2 separate regions of the Homo sapiens genome follow, and region 1 is linked to region 2. The links are contacts of gene promoters, found by promoter capture Hi-C in blood cells and fetal thymus (Javierre and others, 2016). All regions are on one chromosome and are shown on one strand. Each heading gives the region's core, a stretch centred on a gene start or on the middle of the fragment in contact. The rest is flanking DNA. Distances are from core to core; before and after follow the strand shown.

Region 1 (4,830 bases), core at 1,011-3,510, 330 kb after region 2:
GCGTTGTCTGTGCAGCCTCCTGCTCCCATGGCATGGAGTGCCCCCTCGTCTTGTCTTGGGATCTGTGAGTAACAAGCTACTTATCCTTTCTTTCTTTCTTTTCTTTCTTTCTTTCTTCTCTTTTTTTTTTTTTTTTTTTTTTTTTGAGACAGAGTCTCGCTCTGTTGCCCAGCCTGGAGTGCAATGGCACAATCTTGGCTCACTGCAACCTCTGTCTCCCAGGTTCAAGTGATTCTCCTTCCTCAGGCTCCCGAGTAGCTGGGATTATAGGCACCCACCACCAGCTATTTTTTTTTTTTTTTGGTATTTTTAGTAGAGACAGGGTTTCACCATGTTGGTCAGGCTGGTCTCGAACTCCTGACCTCAGGTAATCCATCCACCTTGGCCTCCCAAAGTGCTGGGATTATAGATGTGGGCCAGCATGCCCAGCCCAAATTGCTTTTTCAATGGCTGACATCTGATTGGTGGGCCTGCCATACCTAAATAATGATAAAACCTTTATTTTAAAGCACTATTCTCTAGGAATAATTCTGAATGAGCCCAAAGATATATGTATCAGGTGGTCACCTCAGTGAAGTTGACAATGGTACAAAATAGGAAATCATTCGAATGGCTAACAATAGTAGACAGTTAAATAATTTATTGAGTATTATACTATGGGATGCAATGTAGCTGTCAGAAAGGTAGAAAAAATTGTTTTTAAATGTTTGTGTAAAGGAAAAACGGTTTACCACTTCCTGTGAAAGAAGAGGGATCCAAAATTTTTTATTTCCCCCCTCCAATTATCCTAAAAAAAAACAGTGAAATAAAGTTTTTAAAGCTACAAACCCACACTGACAAACTGTGAAAGAAGAAATGACAGCATTTTGGACACTGAGAGGCCAACAGAATGACGATAACTAGTTTTAGAACAGAAAAAGGAGACGTTAACTCCTGGAAAGAAAGACACCACCATGCACCTATGCAATCAGAATAGAGACAGAAAAGACTCTCTGGGTTTAGGGGTATTGGATGCCTGTAGAAGTTGGGGTGTAGGTAACCCCCATTTATGCCCATGGGGAGTGCACCTCTCCCCTTTGAGCTCCACCCCAAGGCCAAAGTTTCCTGGAGGCTCTTTGCCTCTGCCACTCCTAGAACTGGGCTGACCCCAGGAACTCCAACCACCTAATTACAACAGAATATCGGAAGGGCCTTGCCAGATGTCAACATAAGATGATTTCTGTCCAGAGATCTGAGTGTCAAAAGGAAGAAGTTTCCCAAAGCTCATGTAATGGCTGCAGTAATGATGACTCTTGATGAAGTCAATGCCTGGCCACCAAACAAGCTCTCATGATGGTGGACAAGTTTGTCCTTGCCTTCATATTACTAATTGGCCATCAACAGTCCATTTTTCCCATTGAATAACTTATTTTCAGAAATGTGCTTCTATAACTCAATTGTTGCATGCAGTGAAACTAATGGAGGACTTATATAGTGATAAATAACAATCAAAGTGTACCAATCCTTCTAAAAATACCGAAGGTATCAGCCAGAGTTCTGTTCTCTCATATGAAAAGTTCAGGAGGTGAATAGAGCTTGAAACACAATTACATAAATAAATGTAATAAATGAAATAAATAGATTAGATAGATAATAGATAGATCATAGATAATTGATAGATGATAGATAATAGGTAGGTAGGTAGATAGGTAGATAGACAGACAGACAGACAGACAGACAGACAGACAGACAGATAGATAGATAGATATTTTATGGCATTATCTTCCGATAAAGAGAGAAGTCTGTTTCCTAAAGGTCAAGGTAGAAAAGCTGTCCTCCAGGCACCCACAGTGTGCTCCAGCAACCTTGCCAACACCAGCCCTGCTGCCCGTGGGCTGGCCCCCTTGCCACCACTGCTCAGGGTCACACTTCCGCCATGCTGTGGCTGGCCATCCCCCTTCCTACCCATCCTTTAATTTCAGACTTGAGCTCCACCCCATTCATGGAGCACAGCGAGCTCTTTGCAATGAATTTCCTTGTATTTTGAGACAATCAAGCGGCAAGGTAGGTTTTTTTCTCCCCAGCCCTTCCCGTCCTTGGGAATAATGAGGCACACTCTCAATACGAACTTTTAGCAGAGCATACGGGGCAGGACTGAGTGGGATCTGTCCCTGCTGGGGGAAGGGAGGCTCATCTTGTAGATGCGCTACCTGGGGCAGCACCAGGTGGGGCAGCTACCCAGGTGCAGGGCCTGAGCCCGCTTCCCACCCTCCCCTGCAGCTCTGCCCTGGGGGAATCTGGACTGAGTTGGTCCAAGGAGAGGAAATCCCTTATGTCCCTCTGAGGTAGGCTCCTGGAGACTTAATGGGAAAGTCCAGGAGGTGGAAAAGGGAAAAACTGCTGGCTCCAACCTCTGTTCTGCTAGTGAGTTTAGTCTTTTCAGTCAGACTTTTCAGGGAGTGGATTCTGCCTTTTCCTCTTTCCAAATGTTACAGATGGAATGGATAACACTATATTGTATTGGCTTGTATATAATTTAACTATTTGGCATGGTCTTATTGTCAGTCCAAGTTCTGCGATGTCACACCACCAGCATCTCAGGAGCCTCAGAATAGAGGGAAGCGTTTTTCCTTTGTGATAATGCTGCCCTCTACTGGACATCAGGAAATTCACAGGTGAAGACCGACGTAGTTTGTCCCTAAAGTTTTGCTTTGATTTAATTTAATGGATAGGGTTCAAGATTGTTTAAAAAAAAGGGGAGAGTGGGGAGGGGGAGGCAGTGGGTCCTGGAAAAGTAAATTGTTTATTTTACAATAAGAAAGTGGTTAAATATTTTATTTTTTTTACAATGGTGGAAAATTAGAAGTGATTGTGAAAATGATGTGTACCTGTCTTGCTGGTGAGTAGGATGTGATTTGGCGCTTTAGGAAAGTGAATTTGTAGAACTCAAAAATATTGACTTATAAAGGGCATGGCCGTTGACCCAGTCCATCTTATGCAAATCTAGATGCCATAAATAATATTTAAAAGTAAAAATACTGGGGTGGAGGTTGCAGTGGGCAGAGATCGCGCCACTACACTCCAGCCTGGGTGAAAGAGTGAGACTCTGTCTCAAAACAAAACAAAAAAAAAGAAGTCATTCCCAATGTTGCTCATCAAATTATGACCATAAATATCCAGGATAAGACTAGTGGCTAAAGAAACTGTGACACGTCAACACCAGGCAGAAAATAAAGCAGATTTTTTTGTTGTTTTGGAGAGCCTCTAGGAACTTGAAAAATACATATGCCACACTCTTAAGACCCAGTGGTTCTTAATCGGGGTGTTCATTAAAATGCCAGAAAACTGAAAATACTTCTAGGTCCCATCCAAGGAGATTTTGCTTCCGATTGACTGGCTAGTGGCCTGGCCATTGGTATTTTAGAAAAACCCTCCAAGTGATTATTTTACTTACATTCCAGATAGAAAACTCTAAATTAAAGGGGAAAAAAACAGACACAAAGTGGCATTTAAATAAATGTCAACTTTAACTCCACAAAGCATCTGATTGCATGTGGACAGAAAGAGAAGGAAAGAGGGCCCTATATCTGGATAACTTAGAAATGTGCTCCCCCTAGCAAGATATCTACCAAAATTAGAAACACATTTGAGGATGCTGGCACTGCGAGCAATATATAAATGATGCGTGTAATGTCATTTAATATGATCGTATTTTTAAAAATGAGTTGAGTGGTGTTTTCTAGCTGTTAGTTTTTCCAAATATCAATATAGAAATTAGTCTTCTGCAGCTGCAGAGGCAATTCAGTTTCCAGCTTGCTTTCACGGCCTAGAGCCATAAAGTGGCCCAGAGCATCTCTGATCCACCCCTCCCACAACCACCTAATCCAGAGACAACCGAATGCTTTGGACCATCTGATGAGAGAGGTAGCTGCATGGCAGTAAGAGTCCTGCTCTGAAGTGACAAGAGCCTTAAGGCCTGGTTTTGACTTACTGCTAACTTGCTCACACTGCATACTTGCTGAGTGATCTTGGGTGAATCGTTTCACCTCTCTGAGGTTCACTATGAAATGAGAGGTCAAGGGTCCAAACTTAAACACCTTCAGAGGTTGGGTAATATCAGTGAGTAAAATAGACCAGGCACAGCACAAAGGGGTATGGTGTGGACTGTGGCACGTTGAGAACTTAGGCCTCTGCAAAGGGGGCAGCCACCTCTCAGTTCCTGCAGATTACTCTATCTTTGCTGAGGACAGTTGCACAGGTAGTGCACTGCAGAAGGGTAACACTTTAGAGAAGGTGTCATTTGCATCATAAATGCAGATATTTATCCATGGCAGTTTCATGGAAGATGTCTGTAGAAGGTTTTGAGGAAGGGGCACCTTGTAATTTGCATAAAAGGTTGTATGGACCGCCAGAAGTGCTGGTTATCATGTGGGAATGCAGCTCGGTAACAGTATCTTCTGGGTTTTCTTGTTATTGTTGTTTCCTGAAGAAGCTGGAAATATGGCATTTAATGTGAAATTTTCCTAATTTAAAATTTGCTGGCAACAAATTCCAAAACATGTTTAACGTTGTGTGGGCCAAACAAAACACTTCAGGGGGTCTGATTCGGGCACTGAGTTGGAGATCTCTCACCCAGATGAGTTACTGGCATCTCAGAAACCCTCCTATTGTATGCATCTTATGTAATCTTGAAGCAATCACGAAGAAAAACTAATTACCCTGGTGAATTATATGGATATAATATGGATTATGTGGCTATACAAAGTAAGAGTGCATCCTTTGAATGATGGTATTTAACATTCTCCCTACCCTGTGACTAACTTTGATTTGTCCTTTCTTAATGTAAATGCT
Region 2 (5,315 bases), core at 1,535-4,034:
AGCCAGAAGCGGAAACTTAAAAAGTCCGAATCTCTGCTCCCTGCAGGGCACAGGTGATGGTGTCTGCTGGAAAGGTCAGAGCTTCCAAAGTAAACAGCAAGAGAACCTCAGGGAGAGTAAGCTCTAGTCCCTCTGTCCTGTAGAAAGAGCCCTGAAGAATCAGCAATTTTGTTGCTTTATTGTGGCATCTGTTCGAGGTTTGCTTCCTCTTTAAGTCTGTTTCTTCATTAGCAATCATATCAGTTTTAATGCTACTACTAACAATGAACAGTAACAATAATATCCCCCTCAATTAATAGAGTGCTTTCTATGTGCAAGGCACTTTTCACGTGTCACCTATTTTAACCTTTCCAACCACATAAATAAAAAAGGCCATTATTAGTTGAATCTTATTGATGAAGAGACTGATGGCTCAAGAGAAGTGATTTTTCCAGGGTCCCATAGCTATTAGGGACCTACAAGGCCAAAGGATAGCCTAGCAGAGGAGCTTTAGCTCTCAAACCAGAATCTCACCACCCTCCGCCACCCTCAAAAACACCCCCACCACCTTCAAAACCGCTCCTGCTACCCTCCACCACCCCCAAAACCACGCTGGGTAAACACAGCTAAGGGAGAAATACTGTGCTTGCTTCTAAACACAGCTGGTATTAATGGATAAGCTCCTTACTCCTTCCTACCAGTCTACCCACTCCTAATCTCCTACATAGAAATTCTGGAGCTACTGCTGAACAGAAATTGAAGGCCTGGGGTTTTTCTGAGGCCCTTTCTGGCTCCGATAGTCTGATTGATAGTATATATATTGCTTCTGGCCTCTTATGATGGGGCTGGTGAGGAAGGTGCGTAAGGAGTGAACTCTACAGGTGACCTCCTCAGTGAGCCTGATGTCATTGTTTCTATCTCTTTTTTCTGTTTTTGAGATGGAGTCTCACTCTGTCACCCAGGCTGGAGTGCAATGGCGCAATCTCGGCTCACTGTAACCTCTGCCTCCCAGGTTTAAGTGATTCTCCTGCCTCAGCCTCCCAAGTAGCTGGGATTACAGGTGCACGCCACCATACCCAGCTAATTTGTTTTGTATTTTGGTAGAGACAGGTATCACCGTGTTGCCCAGGCTGGTCTCGAACTCCTGAGATCAGGCAATCCACCCATCTCGGCCTCCCAAAGTGCTAGGATTATTGGTGTGAGCCACCACTCTCGGCCCCATCTTTTCTATCTTTTATCCTCCCATGGCCTGTCCCCTTGACTCAGATTCTTTTTGTTTCTTCTTCTTCTTTTTTTTTCTTTTTTGAGACAGTGTCTTTCTCTGTCACCCAGGCTGGAGTGCAATGGCATGATCATAGCTCACTGCAGACTTGATCTTCTGGGCTCAAGCAATCCTCCCACTTCAGCCTCCTGAGTAGCTGGGACTGCAGGCATGCAACAGCACAGCCAGCTAATTTTTAATTTTTTTTAGAGATGGTGGAGTCTCTCTTTGTTGCCCAGGCTGGTCTCGAACTCCTGGGCTCAAGGGATCCACCCTCCTCAGCCCCCAAAGTGCTAGGATTACAGGCGTGAGCCACTGCACCTGGCCTGGCTTAGGTTGTTGACAGTTGGAAAGACATCTTTCTGTGCAGGTATCTGGCTAAAGAGTCTCAAGGGTCTGCCAGTCCCAACTTGAAGACCCCCTAGACTGGGGAATCTTCTATCATGGCTGTAATGCACTGTTATTAATGTTCCCTGTTACACTGAGAGAAAAGTCAGTGGCTCCACAACATAATAATGCTTAAAACATGCCATTTCTTCAGTGTTTCTCTATGAACACTACACATGCATTATTTTATTTAATCCTTGCTACAATTCTATGGAGTTAGAATGAATCTCCCATTCCTAGACAAGGAAGCAAACTCAGGTTAAGTGACTGACTCAAGGCCACACATCTATGTGGTAGGGCTGGAAGATTCTGACATTCAGAGGGTAACTTTGGAGAACCCCAGGGCTCAGACTCAGATTTTCATCCTGGCCTTCCTACCTGCTGTGAGAAGAGTTGATCAGTTGGGATGAGTTGATTATCATCTCCTTCCTTTAACTCTCAGCCACTCAGGGTTGATCAACTGTCCTCAGATAATGGGACAAACCCCTGCCCTCCCACCCCCACGAGCACCCACATAGGTCCAAACAGGCTTGAACTTCCTCAGTGTGAAAGGGAGCCACAGCCCAATACATTTCCCTTTTCTGGGTCAGGTTCCTCATCTAGCGTGGAGGGCAACTGTAATTTTTGCCTTTTCTGGTAATAGTAGCTCAGTTTTCCTCTGGAGAACCATCTCTCCCCTGTCAGTCCATTATGTTTTGAGTGAAACAAATTCCACTCCTAGTGCCATCATGGGTGTATTAATATTAGCTCACTTAATGGAACAGCCCAGGGGAAGTGGTTGCTCAATGGCATTACTGGATCCAGGTTAGGATTATCTGAGAATACATTTATCTGCATTTTACGGAAGGCAACCGAGGTTCATAGAGATAGTGATTTGGCCAGCGTCACAGGCCCAGTAAAAGGGATTGAAAATCCAGGTCCGTCCGACCCTAAAGCAGGGAACTCTGCCTAGTGTCTCGCTGTGGAATGTTAGGGATCCTGGGGTACCCTTCAGGGTCTTGGCTCGGAAGGAAAACATTCCCCTCCGAGGGGATGGACTATATTACCAAGGGGGTGGAGCCAGATGCCTGAGGGGGTGTGGCCAGAGCCTGGGGCGTGTCACAGCCGAAGGGGCAGGGCGGCAGCAGCAGGCGTCTAAGTAACTTCAGCGCCTGCGCAGAGGCTCCCCAGCGTCGCCCTAGGCTGGGACTCTAGTAGGTCTTCGGCTCAGTTTTGGCTGCAGCGCCCGCGTAGATCGCTTCGGCCGGGTTCTACGCCCGGCTCAACTATGAGCCGGTGCGCCCAGGCGGCGGAAGTGGCGGCCACAGTGCCAGGTGCCGGCGTCGGGAACGTGGGGCTGCGGCCGCCCATGGTGCCCCGTCAGGCGTCCTTCTTCCCGCCGCCGGTGCCGAACCCCTTCGTGCAGCAGACGCAGATCGGCTCCGCGAGGCGGGTCCAGGTGAGGGGCGTGGGTCTGAGGGGAGAGGTGGTCTGAGGGGGGCCTAGGTCAGAGGGGGGTCCAGGTAAGGGGTGTGGGTCTGAGAGAGGAGGGCGGCCGAGGGGGGCGTGGGTCTGAGGGAGTGAGGTGGTCCGAGGCGGGCGAGAGTCTGAGGAGGGAGGTGGCCTGAAGGGGGCATGGGTCTGAGGAGGGAGGTGGCCCGAGGGGAGCCAGGGTCTGGGGCGGGTCCAGGTGACTGGTGTAGGTCTGACGGGGGAGGGCGGTCGAGGGGCGCGTGGGTCTGAGGGGCGTTGTGGGTCTGGGAAGCAAAGGCATCAGAGGAAGAAAGAGCAGTGGATCTGAGAGGAGAGGACTTCTGAGGGGCCGTGAGCCTGAAAGGGGCGGAGATGTGTGTCTGAGAATTGAGGACATTTAGAGGATGGTCTGAGCGGGCACGGGAGGAGAGAAGATGCTGGGAAGATGCGGGCCTGAGAGGAGAATCCAAAACAGGAAGAGACTGAGCTGGCTGGTGGCGCAGGCTACATTCCATGCCCCAGAAGGTTGAAGGAATCTGTGAATCTGTGACAGAAGCTTCAACTTGAGTTTATGAGAGTGTAGTGGGAGGCAGATCTACTACGGGAGAGTAGATTTGAAGAAGTCTTTTTTTTTTTTTTTTTGCCTTAGGAAGGAGAGGAGTCAGTATGGGATGGATAAGAGTGAGGCAGAAGGCAGAGAGCCTAGGTCTGTGGTTAGAACAACAGGTAAGGCTGGAAAGATTTAGCTGAGCAGGAGCATGATGGAGGGTGGGAAGTCAGAATCAAAGAAAAGGGACAACTGAGTCAGCTTAGGATGTTCAAGAAGTTTTGGTCCAGAATCAGTCTTCACCTAAAAACGTTTCCTAAGTTGAAGCATGAGAAGTAGTAGCCCAGGCTGTTTTCCATTGTTAAAAATGGCTATACTGTTATGCACAAAGGAAGTTTCCTTTCCTTTCCTTTTTCTTGTAAAGGGTTCCTTTTACCATTGGCAGTTGCACTCTTTGGACTTCCTCTTTGTTGAAGTTAGTGATCAGAGAACAAGATAGACCCTGCTAACCACATTTGTCCGTGTGTTCTGCGGGGGTTGGGGGGGTGGGGGAACAATTTTGAAGTTTTCATGTCCATCTCACACATTACTTTGGATTTGAAGCAGTATAATATTTGCAATCAGCTTGTATGCACTAAGACCATTGTCCTCTACAGTGGGGGAAGGTTAAGTGCAGAGCTAAACAACACAGGTGGTGGCTTGAGTAATGGTAGATGGGTGTCTGGTTGAAGAGGGGTGTGAGAGAGGAAGAAGATAAAGAATGTAGTAATACTGCTTTGTGAGGAAATTAAACGTTTAAAAATGTGATCCTCATGTCTTTAAATTAATAGATATTCTTTTTGTGTCTTCACATTCTGAAACATTTGTAAATACATAGACCATTGTTCAAGATTAAATTTAGTCTGATTTAATTAAATCATACTTAAATGAAAATATGCCCATCTATTTGACTTCATATTTTGGAAAGAAACAGCATGGAATGTTGACAAATATTTATATTGCACCTATAATAAATTATTAAGTTTTTCCATCACCTGGTTTGTTACTGTTTAAAGATCTCTTCCAAATAACTCTCTGAGAGTTATAGTATAATGGAATGATAGCTAGTCAGTTATAGGAACTGGTCATTTATTAGTTGTATGACTTTGGCCAAGTCACTTAACCTCTCTGAACTATACTTTTCTCGTCTATTACATTGGAATATTAATAACTCAAAGGAGGGCTACAATTAAGTGAAATAATCTGTTATTGTTTGTTGATCTTAATATTGATAATATTGATAGTTATCCTATATATTTTCTACAAAGTATATACTGTACTTAAAATTTACTACTTGGATTAAATGGGATTTAACAAAGTCTGGATATTAAAAATACTTTTTAAATTTATATAGATCAGAGATACAAGAGGTTTCAGTGGCTTGAATCATCTGGGTAAAGGGAAGATTTGAATAGGCATGGTAGAAAAACAATGTCCATATTATCCAGTTTAAAAGGTGGACACACTTTCATTTAAGTATGACTTAGTATGATTAATTTAGACTAAGTTTAATCTTAAATGATGATCAATGTCTTGCTTAAGGACTGTTGTCCTCACATTTCACTAAGATAGTTAAACAAACAAGTACAAAAATATATAATCTCATGTTTTAGTAAGTGTAATGAAGGAAAACCAGAGAATAACACTGAG

The links. Contacts are between HindIII fragments. The CHiCAGO score rates a contact against its expected background, and 5 or more counts as called.
Region 1: a contact is called between a fragment that was not itself captured here and the fragment with the promoter of LPCAT2 in region 2, in 5 of 17 cell types (monocytes, M2 macrophages, M1 macrophages and 2 more). The highest score is 15.5, in monocytes.

The regions. Positions count from the first base shown.
Region 1 is chr16:55,840,387-55,845,216 of GRCh38, forward strand. No RefSeq gene overlaps it. Among named protein-coding and RNA genes, the nearest start is that of CES1, 9.7 kb to the left of the region's middle. The HindIII fragment of the contact is 6,371 bases long and covers 1-4,830 here.
Region 2 is chr16:55,506,288-55,511,602 of GRCh38, forward strand. It overlaps LPCAT2 (lysophosphatidylcholine acyltransferase 2), which reads left to right and starts at 2,785. Exons shown (of 14, transcript NM_017839.5): 1 at 2,785-3,065. The coding sequence starts at 2,895. It overlaps MMP2 (matrix metallopeptidase 2), which reads left to right. Exons shown (of 13, transcript NM_004530.6): 13 at 1-404. The HindIII fragment of the contact is 4,685 bases long and covers 1-3,633 here.